4 separate regions of the Homo sapiens genome follow, and regions 1, 3 and 4 are each linked to region 2. The links are contacts of gene promoters, found by promoter capture Hi-C in human tissues and cell types (Jung and others, 2019). All regions are on one chromosome and are shown on one strand. The core of a region is centred on a gene start or on the middle of the fragment in contact, and the rest is flanking DNA. Distances in the headings are between cores, read along the strand shown. Region 1 overlaps STARD9 (StAR related lipid transfer domain containing 9). Region 2 holds the start of TTBK2 (tau tubulin kinase 2). Region 3 overlaps STARD9 (StAR related lipid transfer domain containing 9). Region 4 overlaps SNAP23 (synaptosome associated protein 23).

Region 1 (3,088 bases), core at 69-2,568, 320 kb before region 2:
GGTGTGATTAGATACTGCTGCCATAAAAGCAGCATTTCTGTTTGGGAAACCCCAACCCATTACAAAATGATAACAAGTGATCTGTTATCTGCTGCCTCAGAAAGTACGCAGGATGAGCTGGAGAGATGGAGTGTGACCTTCCCTTCTTTTATGCCTTACTTTTCTTGTATCTGCTGAACTTGGAGTGTGAATGAAGGTTTTGGGGAAGGTGGAAGAATGACTGAAACTGAGGAGGGACCTTTGAGGGGCTAGAGGAGAGGGAAACATGAGGAACAAACTAAGGTGAGGAGGAATTTGAGAGCTCACAGAGGGGTGGGCACTGTTAGGATTGTGTCACTTTTTTACAGCAGGTATCTCCATTTTAGGGATAGGAACAGGCTCAGATTTGTTGCATTATTGCTTAAGGTCATACAACCAAGTGATGGACGCAGCAATCAAACCTTGACTATGTGACTCCATGGTCCAAGCTCTCGCACACTATACCACATACAACTCTATTCCTGTATTTCCAGTGCTGCACATCTTCCATTATCAATCAATGGCTATTAGATTAATTATTCAATTAAAGGTTCAATGTATGACTGACAAGATAGGACTCTGCCTTCTTGAATTTTGCTGCCTGTTTTGGGAAGGCCTCATAATTTGCCTAAGTTAAAGAACCACAGATGCCAATCAGTTTCTTTGTGCATCCCCTTTTTCTGATGCATGTATGTGCTAGGGGAGCTGGGGAGTATGTGGATTCAAAGCAGCATTTTCTCATGAATATTTGCAGAGCTTTGTACATTCCATCACTAGTGCTGGTTTTTTTCCAACCAAGATGGAGACAGAAGTCGAAGGGAGAGAAGTTTATAAGAAAAAGCCTTTTTGTGCAGTAATCAGATGGGGCTCTGCAGAGCTGAGTGGAAGATGGGAGGGGTTACCATGAGTGTTTCAGTATGTCCCTCTGCCAGCAGCACAGCTGTTTGGTTCCATAAGCATGTCTGTGAGCTGGATTTTAATCTAACTTGTTTTTTCCGTCTTTAGAAACTTGACTGTGAATCTTTAAAGAGTAATTTTCAGACTCGTAGAAACATCTGAAAGACAGAGATTCTTGACAATGTTTGCTGCTCGTGGCACATGACTATGCAAAAATGAACAGTGGAAACTAGAGAAATCTTTTAAAATGCCAAAGCTTATGTGGATTTTTCCCCCTGTAAGACAAGGGTAATGGAAATTCCTTGTGGTAGCTAGAGCCCTTGAGATCCAGGCTGGAGAGAGAGGTTATCTGTAGGGGAGACATGCCCAAAGCTTGATAGTCATTTGCAGATGACCAAGGGCAGCCTAAGCATAAATGGAGAGTTCCTAAGACAGTTGTCCTTGATGTTACCCCATTTTTCTCTTGCTTGGATCTGCAATGCTGAAAATTCCTTATACTCACCCTTTGCACCTTAAACTTGGGTTTGTCCTGGGTTTAAAGCGATTGTCAATTAATTGCTTGAGGAAGAGAAGTATGATGATGGTGATGATTACTTTGAGAGTCTTTGGACAAAATGATTTGCAAAATCTTCTAAACGAGAGGATATAAAATGAACAGCAGCCCTTTGAGCAAAAGATCTGTATGTCCACCACAGTAGACAGGCATGCACAGGCAGACTGCTAACAGGTGCTAAATTTTCTTCCCACATACTTGCACAGTAAGCCTGTGTCCAAGTACCCTCTTAACCCCATTTCTGTAGTCCTCTGTTTGGGGGAGCCAGTGTAGCTGACCAACAAAAGGCTCCTTCTAAATACAACATTCAGAAAAGGGTTCAGAGAAAGTTTTGGGAAAAAATGGTTTCTATTTCTGTGCTCAGCAGAAAGCAGATAACGGCATAAATGAAAATGTCAGCTAATTGATTAGCTTATTAAAATATTTTGCTTAAAGGCAATGTAAGATAATTGCAAAATATTCGAACAGTACAGAAGACTATAATGGTAAAACTAGAAAAGCCTTCCCTTTCTATACCTCCCACTCATCTTATTCTCTAAACGTAACCATTGTTTACAATTCTTTTGGTATCCTTCTAGATAGCATCTATTTCTTATTTTTCAAAGGAGTTAGCATATTAAGGAAATTGATTCATCTGTCATAGATACTACAAACATTTTCCCTGTTTATACTTTTGTTTTGATTCTGTTTACGATTGTGTGTGTGTGTATATATATTTTGTTTGTTTGAGACAAGGTCTCGTTCTGTTTCTCAGCCTGGAGTGTAGTGTCGTGATCATGGCTCACTTTAGCCTCAACTTCCCCAGCCTAAGCAGTCCTCTTACCTCAGTCTCCCATGTAGCTGGGACCTTAAGTGTGTACTACTACTCTTGGATAATTTTGTAATGCCAAGCTGGTCTTGAACTCCTGGGCTCCACCTTGGCCTCCCAAAGTATTGGGATTATAGGCATAAGCCACCGCACCTGGTGCATGCATATATATGTATATTTATTTTTTTTTTGAGATGGATTCTCGCTGTGTCACCCAGGCTGGAGTGCAGTGGTGCGGTCTCAGCTCACTGCAACCTCTGCCTCCTGTGTTCAAGCGATTCTCGTGCCCCAGCCTCCCAGGTAGCTGGGATTACAGGTGCCTGCCACCATGCCTGGCTAATTTTTGTTTGTTTGTTTTTTTAAATAGAGTCTCGCTCTGTTGCCCAGACTGGAGCACAGTGGCACGATCTCGGCTCACTGCAGCCTCCACCTCCTGAGTTCAAGCAATTCTCCGCCTCAGCCTCCCAACTAGCTGGGACTACAGGCACCTGCCACCATGCCCAGCTAATTTTTGTATTTTTTAGTAGAGACAGAGTTTCACCATGTTGGCCAGGCTGGTCTCGAACTCCTGACCTCAGGTGATCTGCCCGACTTAGCCTCCCAAAATGCTGGGATTTCAGGCGTGAGCCACAGTGCCCGGCCAATTTTTGTATTTTTAATAAAGATGTGATTTCACCATGTTGGCCAGGCTAGTCTCGAATCCTGACCTCAGGTGATCTGCCTGCCTCAGCCTCCCAAAGTGCTGGGATTACAGGTGTGAGCCACTGCTCCCAGCCTGTGTGTGTGTGTGTGTTTGTATATATATATGTGTG
Region 2 (3,033 bases), core at 99-2,598:
GTGGCAAATCAGGGTTTAGATACCAATGCAACTATTATCAATGGCTCAGAACCAAACATTGTTAACAAAACACACTGAGTGGATCCTCCCTCTGCGTGTGTGTCTACATGTGCCCATTCATAACATGACCCTCCTACACACACAGAAACTCAATTTCTACTGAATTACAAAACATCTTCACATTATTAGAAGTGTATAATAAAACTGTCCTCTTTAATGTTCAAAGAAAGAATAATTTCTAAAGCGATGAGAGAGAAGAGTTAATACCAGGATTGCTGCTACCCATCAACTTTAATTCAAAGCAAAGTACAACTCAATGTCATTTTTACCTCTACTGTAGCCTCGACGGATACAAAATTAACTTCGCTGTAGAATAAAGTATCCTGGCATCCCAATGGATTATTTACTTCTCCGATTTGACAGAACATATACGTGAGTCTTTTGTCCCTCCCACAGCATCCCAGGGTGTCAACATCATCTCTGCCACAGCAAATGACGAGCAAATCCCTCAGATCATTACTTCAGCACCCTAAGTACAAGAAAGTCGCGGCCTTCACTGTCGTTACAACACAGCAAACAGATTCAGTAGTCCCATGTTCCTTTCCATGATAGTTGGGGAGGCGGGGTGGGAAATAAGCGCTCAGATTTCCTAGGAATCCTTCGTGTTCGGTGCTGGTACCAGAAGTGGCATGGGTACAAGTGATATGTGGGTCACCCACAGAGAGAGACGCAGAACGAAGCTTCGTGACCCTCCAAGTTCAGTGAAGACACCCAAAGCCTGGGGCAAAACGAGGCGGCAGCCTTCGGGGAAATCGGGCAGAACCAGAACGATCTCCGAGATGGAGAGTGACGGGGTCTGGCACGAGCCCCGGGCTTGCAGCGAACTGAAAGTCCCCGGTACCCCTCCCCTCCTCAGCAGGCTCGGTCACTCGGCGAGGGGTGCGGCCGGAGGAGGGGGTCGAGACTGGGGGAGGGCGGCGCCCTGGGGGGTCGGGGGGTGTGTCCTACCTGGGCCGTGGCGGACGCAGGGGTTTCTGGAGGAGGGCTCTGGTCCAGCTCAGGACCGGGACCGGCGGGGGTTAACCCTCGGCAGGCGGGACCGCCACTGCCTGCCCATCCCCCACCGCCGACTGCGGCGGGACCCGAGCGCGGCTTCCAGGGCCGGCCGGCTGGGTAGTCCCCTGGGGTACCGTCCGCGTTTACTGGCGGCGGCGGCGGCGGCTGCTGCTGCTGTTACTGCTGCTGCCGGCTCCCCCAAGCCGCTGCTCTTGTGCCAGCACCTGCTCCCCCTCCTGCCGCCGCCGCCGCCTCGTCCCCACCGCTCCCATCGCCGCTGCGGCGACTACTGCAGAGCCCGCTGACCCGACCCGACGTTATTCTCCCCCCTCGTAACCCGACACAGCCTAGCCCACCTGCCCTGCCAGCGCGCACGCCCACCTCTCCGCTACAGGTGCTGATTGGAGAGTGCGTTCCGAACTCGCAGCGTCGGTTGGCTAGTCCCATTGCCTATCACGAAGGGGGCGGAGAGTCGGGCAGAAACCGTCTCCGCCCCCCACCGGAGAATTGCCGCTATCTTCAGGTTTGCCTGAGAGGGCGAGTTACCGGGAAAGGAGCATCACAATGGCAGCGCGCATGCGCCTAGGAATTCTGGGCCTCGTAGTTCCAGCCATAGCCGCAACTCCCCGCCTGTCCCGAGGAGAGAAGTAGGGCTTCCGAGACAAGTAGTTTGCGCACATAGGTGTTCTCCTAGCGTGACAGTTAAATTGGTTATAGAGGGATGGTTGGGACCCCATGGTTGGGCTTTTCGGAATAAAATCGGAAATGCTTTGTCACGATACGAAATTACACACTGAGGCAGTCGCGATGAAGGGCCCAAATCGTGAGGCCCTGCAAGCCTTAAGGATCCATCCTCTTCCTCAGCATCAGCGCTGACAGCATCCCGCAAATTGGCGCCGTCCCCAGAACCGCCTAACGTGAAGCTAATCATCTTTGGGGGACTGGGGAAGGGCCTTAGGTGTGACGAGGAAAGGAGATGGGCACTTCCATAAACGAATGTCAACTTGGAGACCGGAGTGTCCTTACGGTTTCACAACCCAAGAACAAGATTTCATTCCCTTTGTGAAACACCACCAGCTAAAGACTCAATGGCCAGCCCCGGTGCACACCAGTATGCGATGCTGAGCAAGTGTATGCGGGAGGTGCTCAAAGACTTTCAAAGAAAAGCGAGGAGGGCGGAGCAAGGACGCTGTGCAGGATGCGTTTCTATTTAGTGTTGTGTCAGTCGCTTTGGCGAAGGAAAACCTTAAGATTAAGCACCTCTCCCATCTTTGCCCACCAGTGTACAGTAGAGAAAACACATGAAAAACGCTAAACAGCTTTCCTAAGGCTATAAACTAATCAGTGGCAAAACCAAAACTCAGGTCTCTCATACGCCCCACATCTAATGTCCTTTCTACTTAAGAATCACAATGATCCCCAGGGTTCTGCCATGAATGGAAAGAATGTAATGAATTATGAACTTCATTTTTACTTTAAATCCTTTTCTTCACTCAAGTGACATTGTCATTAAAGCTGATTAAGAATATAGAAAGGTAAATGACTAATCCTATATTCAATCTTGGAACTGTTCCTATAGAATCTGTTTCTTCTTGCTCAGGAAGTGCCACAGCCTCTTGCCATTCTTTTTAAAAACAGCAGGCATCTCTACTCTCTGTCATGTCCAGATCCTTGGATTGAAAGCAGGACAAAATGTACATTAAAGGCAAGTGATGATGCAGCTCATCTTGTTCTATGCAAACATAAAGATGTTGCCAAATTGTTTTTTATTTCTACTGATTAAAACCACACGTTACTTTTTCTATTACTATGTCTAATAGAGTACTTCATTCATTTCAGAGTATTGACCAATCACATAATTTGAATAAGAAAACATTAGGGTTTCTGTAAATATTTTTCTTTAAAATTAAAGAAGTTTATAGGGGCCAGGCACAGTGGCTAATGCCTGCAATCCCAGCACTTTGAGAGGCTGATGTG
Region 3 (2,700 bases), core at 121-2,620, 300 kb before region 2:
TTAACTCTAGTCTAATTCAGTCTGGAATAGGTCCTCAGTTTTTCCCTGATGTTCATGATCTTAACACTTACGAAGATTACAGGCCAATTATTTTGTAGAATGTCCCTTTTATTTTATTTTATTTTATTTTATTTTATTTTATTTTATTTTGGAGACAGAGTTTCCCTGTGTCGCCCAGGCTGGAGTGCAGTGGCACAATCTTGGCTCACTGCAACCTCCACCTCCAAGGTTCCAGCAGTTCTCCTGCCTCAGCTTCCTGTGTAGCTGGGATTATAGGTGCCTGCCACCATGCCTGGTTAATTTTGTATTTTTAGTAGAGATGGGGTTTCACCATGTTGGCCAGTCTGGTCTCGAACTCCTGACCTCAAGTGATCCACCCGCCTCAGCCTCCCAAAGTGCTGGGATTATAGGGGTGAGCCACCACCTGGTATACATGTCCCTTAATTTGGATTGTCCAGTGTCTCCTCATGATTACATTCAGATTATGTATCCTTGATACCAGTATCACTGAATTTACTTTGATTGCTTGATTAAGGTGGTGTCTGCCAGATTTTTTTCACTGTAAAGTTACTCTTTCTCTTCTTTGTAATTAATAAATATTTTGTATTTAATAAATATTTTGTAGGAAGTACTTTGAAACTATGTATTCCGGCCCTCATCAGACTTTCAAATTATTTATATCTGTGATCCATGGTTATATTATATATTATATCTTTGATTCATGGTTTCTCATTTTATACAGTGGATTACAACCTGTTACTATCATTGCTTATTGTGTTAAAAGAAAAATTTTAGACAAATTTAACAGAGCTTAATTGAGCAAAGAAGAATTTACAAATAAGGCAGCCCCTAGAACTACGATAGGTTCAGATACAGCCTGAGGCTGCCACATGGTTGGATAACACTTTTGGACAGAAAAAGGAAAGTGACATACAGAAAACAGAGGGATGAGGTACAGAAACAGCTGGATTGGTTACAGCTCATTTTCTTCATTTGAACACAGTTTGAACAGTTGGCTGTCTGTGATTGGTTGAAACTTGGCTACTTGTTACAAAAGTAGGTTACAGTCTGTTTATACATTTAGTTAGGTTATAATCACTATGTATGGAGAAACCCTTAGGACAAACTTAAAATCTGCAAGGAGACAGCTTTAGGCTAAACTTAACAATTGTGATGCTCATTTTGTTCCTGTTAGTGGAAAATGATATTTAGAAACCAAGTTCTGGGTGCTAGATGTGATCATTTCTGTTGGGGTATCACTGTTTTCAGGTCCTCTTGGTAAAGTTAGACAAAGCTAGGGAATATATATTTGCATATACATTTTCATATATATACACATACATTTATCTATTTCTTTTTCAATCTATATTGAAGCCTATGAATTCTCACTGATTCTGATCTAATACCATACAATTCATTCTTTTTTGTTTCCTTGACTCTACATTAAAGGAAAATAATTCATTCTTGCTTTCTTCCTCTCCTAATTTATAACTCCTTTATCTGATGATGAGGCTGGCTGTGGTGGTGTGCAACTGTAGTCCTAGCTACTTGGAGGCCACGGCAACTCCTTGAGCCCAGGAATTCAAAGCTGTAGTGGGCTGTGATTGTACCACTGCACTCCAGCCTGGGAGACAGAGTGAGACCCTTAAAAACAAAAAACAAAGAAAAAGAATAATGAAAAATGAAAGCCAAGTTTCTCATTATCACCTGTAGCTCGCTCTCTCTCTCCCTCTCTCTCTCTCTCTCTGTCTCTCTCTTTTTTTAGAGACAGGGTCTCACTTTGTTGCTTACCCTGGAGCGCAGCTGCATGATCATAGCTGATTGCAACCTTGAACTCCTGGGCTCAAGTGATCCTCCCACCTCCGACTCTTGATTAGCTGGGACTTCAGGCATGAGCCACTGCCCAGCGGATGTCTCTCCGTTTTGGATCCATACTTCCTTGTTCAAATAAAACTAACTTGAAGGAAGGGGTGGGGCAGAGAGATTTGTTTGACTGTCTCTGTGGTTACTTGCCTGGGTATCTGTTGTTCCTGAGGTGGGAGATCTTTAGTTGTAACTATGAACTTTCCAAGGTTGACAGTGAGGTATTAAGAGATGACAAATGGAAGTACAAAGATTTTTCAGAGGGAGTCATGTGACATGGTTGTTCTCCTGTTTTGTCCAGAGCTCTGATGTTCTGAAGGATTGAAATGAAAAGGATACATTTTATATTTTATGGTGATACAGTCCTGGGGTCAACCTCACTGAAGAGAGGCCTTTATCTGGGGACATTATGTGGGGCTTCAAGGTAGGGACCTCTCTCAAAGTGTGCTTTGAAATAAGTAAGTATAGCTTAAGATGCAGATCAGGGCCAGGCGTGGTAGCTCACGCCTGTAATCCCAGCACTTTGGGAGGCGGAAGCAGGCAGATCACCTGAGGTCGGGAGTTTGAAACCAGCCAGACCAACATGGAGAATCCCCACCTCTACTAAAAATACAAAAATTAGCTGGGTGTGGTGGTGCATGCCTGTAATCCCAGCTACCTGGGAGGCTGAGGCAGGAGAATTGCTTGAACCTGGGAGGCGGAGGTTGCAGTGAGCTGAGATTGTGCCATTGCACTCCAGCCTGGGCAACAAGAGCGAAACTCTGTCTCAAAAAAAAAAAGATGCCGATCAAATGCCAACACTGCTATGAATATTTCCCTCACTACCTCAGGCCACAG
Region 4 (3,061 bases), core at 471-2,970, 400 kb before region 2:
CTCACTGCAACTTCCACCTCACGGGTTCAAGTGATTCTCCTGCCTCAGCCTCCCAAGTAGCTGGGATTACAAATATGTGCCACCATACTCAGCTAATTTTTATATTTTTAGTAGAGACAGGGTTTCGCCGTGTTGGCCAGGCTGGTCTCAAACTCCTAACCTCAGGTGATCTGCCCGCCTCTGCCTCCCAAAGTGCGGGGATTACATGCGTGAGCCACTGCTCCCGGCCAAAAGTTCATATTTTAATAACTATGACTTGTCAATCAGAGTTTAGCAGATTACTTTAAGCAAACAAGTTAAAATGTACAGATTATTTGATACAAACTCTTAGCTATGTTTTACAAACATAATTGTACCTTTCTCTTGTGTTCCATGTACCTTCTTGGAAGAGTACAGAAGAGAGGAAGTAGATGAATTTTCTTGAGATCAGATGTTAGGAGAACAAGGAGAAAGAAGTCTCCCCTAAAATCTTAGAGGAAGATCAGCTCTAAGTCACGTGTTGATAAATAGGAAGAGCACTGAATTAGACCTAAGATGGTCTAATATCATAGAAAGTGGGAAATGCAGCTACAGAGTATTAATTTTATGTCTCTTTGTGTATCCCAGCCAAGCATAGGCAAGCTTTTCTTGAAGACTGGTGGGAAACAAGGTAGGGTATGGTCCTGAATCAGCATTCTTCAGCCTCTAACCTCAGTAGAACCCTTTCTCAGTGGATCAAGAGAAGGCATTACTTTTTTAGAGATGGCCTCTCCCTCTGTCTCCCGGGCTTGAATGCAGTGGTGCCACCATAGCTCACTGTAGCCTCAAACATCTGGGCTCAAGCAATCCACCCACATCAGCCTCCCAAGTAGCTAGGATTACAGGTGTGTGCCACCATGCCCAGCTAATTTTTGAAATTTTTTGTAGAGACAGGGGTCTTGCTATGTTGCCCAGGCTTGTATCAAACTCCTGGCCTCAAGAAATCCTCCCACTTCAGCCTCCCAAAGCACTGGGATTACAGGCTTAAGCCACTGCACCCAACTGGCACTTCTTTCTTTTTTTTTTTCTGGCACTTCTTGAGAGATGGAATCAAGGGGCTGCTGTAACAAAACAGTTCCCTTAAGAGAAGAAAGTATTATCTCAGTTAAAGATGTCTGATTGTAATTGTCTTTCTTCCACCTATTTCTTTCTTACACCATTGAGACCTTGGCCAGTATGATATCTCTTATCCTCAGCTCTGTTCCTATCATTCTTGCCTGTGTCTTGATCTTTCTAATCTGCTAGTCTGTGTTTCAGTTAGGCTCGTCACATGAATAACCATAACATGAGCTTCTTAAAGGTAGACATGAGATCTTAGTCCTATGTGTAAGGCCTAGTCTTCATACCAGCAGTAGCAGTAACAACCCAGGTCAGGTCCAGAGTTCCTTATTTGCCATTTGGAAATACTTTTTCTTTTCTTTCTCTTTTTTTTTTTTTTTTTTCTCGAGACAGGGTCTCGCTCTGTTACCCAGGCTGGAGTGCAGTGGCAGTCATGGCTCACTGCAGCCTCAACCTATCCTCCAGCGTCAGCCTCCTGAGTAGCTGGGATTACAGGCACATGCCACCACACCCAGCTAATTTTGTATCTTTTGTAGAGACAAGGTTTCACCATGTTGGCCAGGCTGGTCTTGAACCCTTGGGCTCAGGCAGTCTACCCACCTTGGCCTCCAGAAGTGCTGGGATTGCAGGCATGAGCCATTAAGCCCTGCTGGCCATTCAGAAATCTAAAAAACTCCTAAAGTTTTGTTTTATTTTTGCTGTAATGGTGCCACAACTCATTAGGGTATAAAATGTAACCTGAACTGAAGCTATGTTTAGTCTTTATTACTTGCTGTAGATATTAATTGGTTTCACTACAGAAATACTCTTTTTGAGTCAGGGTCTCACTCTGTCACCCAGGTTGGAGTACAGTGGTATGATCTTGGCTCACTGCAGCCTCGACCTCCTAGGTTCAAGTGATCCCCCCACCTCAGCCTCATGAGTAGCTGGGACTACAGGTGCATGTCACCATGCCTGGTTTGTTTTTAAAAACTTTTGTTTCTTCTTCTTTTTTTTTTTTTTTTTGAGACGGAGTCTCACTCTGTTGCCCAGGCTAGAGTGCAGTGATGCAGTCTCAGTTCACTGCAACCTCTGCCTCCTAGGTTCAACCGATTCTCCTGCCTCAGCCTCCCAAATAGCTGGGATTACTGGTGCCTGCCACCACGCCCAGCTAATTTTTGTATTTTTAGTAGAGATGGGGGTTCACCATGTTGGCCAGGCTGGTCTTGAACTCCTGACCTCAGGTGATCCGCCTGCCTCGGCCTCCCAAAGTGCTGGGATTACAAGCATGAGCCACCATGCCTGACCCTGTTTCTTTTCTTTTCTTTTTCTTTTTTTTTTTTGAGACAGAGTTTTACGTTGTCACCCAGACTGGAGTGCAGTGGTACAATCTCGGCTCACTGCAACCTTCGCTTCCTGGGTTCAATCGATTCTCATGCCTCAACCACCCAAGTAGCTGGGATTAGAGGCATGCACCAACACCTTGCTAACTAATGTATTTTTAGTAGAGACGGGGTTTTGCCATGTTGGCCAGGATGGTCTTGAACTCCTGACCTCAAGTGATCCACCCACCTCGGCCTCCCAACGTGCTGGGGTTACAGGCATGAGCCACCGTACCTGGACTTTAAAAAGTTTTTGTAGAGATGAGTTCTCACTATGTTGCTCAGGCTGGTCTCAAACTCCTAAGCTCAAGCAATCCTCCCACATTGGCCTCCCAAAGTGCTGGTATTACAGAAATGAGCCACCACACGCAACGTCACTACAGAAATATTAATGTATTTAATTATGTGGTACTGTCCAAAACATCTTGCCCCCAATGGATTGGGGTAACAGTTGTGGGCCTGTGCATTAATTTAAGGTACTATTCTGAACATGTTAATTTAATCCTTAAACAGTAGCCTTAATATGAGATAGATGTTTTTTATTATTATCATTTTACATCCAGGCTACACTATGTAGTGGAAGAGCTGGGATTCAAAACCAGGCAGAACCCCCTTGCTTTTTT

Evidence for each region. Contacts are between HindIII fragments. The study calls those that stand out against the background at their distance.
Region 1: a fragment that was not itself captured here is called in contact with the fragment with the promoter of TTBK2 in region 2 in 2 of the 25 tissues and cell types used here (IMR-90 fibroblasts and stomach).
Region 3: a contact is called between a fragment that was not itself captured here and the fragment with the promoter of TTBK2 in region 2, in 2 of the 25 tissues and cell types used here (adrenal gland and mesenchymal stem cells).
Region 4: a contact is called between a fragment that was not itself captured here and the fragment with the promoter of TTBK2 in region 2, in 1 of the 25 tissues and cell types used here (IMR-90 fibroblasts).

The regions. Positions count from the first base shown.
Region 1 is chr15:42,594,919-42,598,006 of GRCh38, forward strand. All of the region lies in intron 3 of STARD9 (StAR related lipid transfer domain containing 9), which reads left to right. Among named protein-coding and RNA genes, the nearest start is that of STARD9, 21 kb to the left of the region's middle. The HindIII fragment of the contact is 3,561 bases long and covers 1-3,088 here.
Region 2 is chr15:42,919,430-42,922,462 of GRCh38, forward strand. It overlaps TTBK2 (tau tubulin kinase 2), which reads right to left and starts at 1,349. Exons shown (of 15, transcript NM_173500.4): 1 at 1,009-1,349. RefSeq lists enhancers at 667-1,167, 1,168-1,668, 1,871-1,970 and a silencer at 941-1,350. The HindIII fragment of the contact is 10,494 bases long and covers 223-3,033 here.
Region 3 is chr15:42,620,622-42,623,321 of GRCh38, forward strand. All of the region lies in intron 3 of STARD9 (StAR related lipid transfer domain containing 9), which reads left to right. Among named protein-coding and RNA genes, the nearest start is that of STARD9, 46 kb to the left of the region's middle. RefSeq lists an enhancer at 1-42. The HindIII fragment of the contact is 4,446 bases long and covers 1-2,700 here.
Region 4 is chr15:42,516,991-42,520,051 of GRCh38, forward strand. The region is part of intron 5 of SNAP23 (synaptosome associated protein 23); the gene reads left to right. Among named protein-coding and RNA genes, the nearest start is that of SNAP23, 23 kb to the left of the region's middle. RefSeq lists a silencer at 1,148-1,348. The HindIII fragment of the contact is 6,914 bases long and covers 1-3,061 here.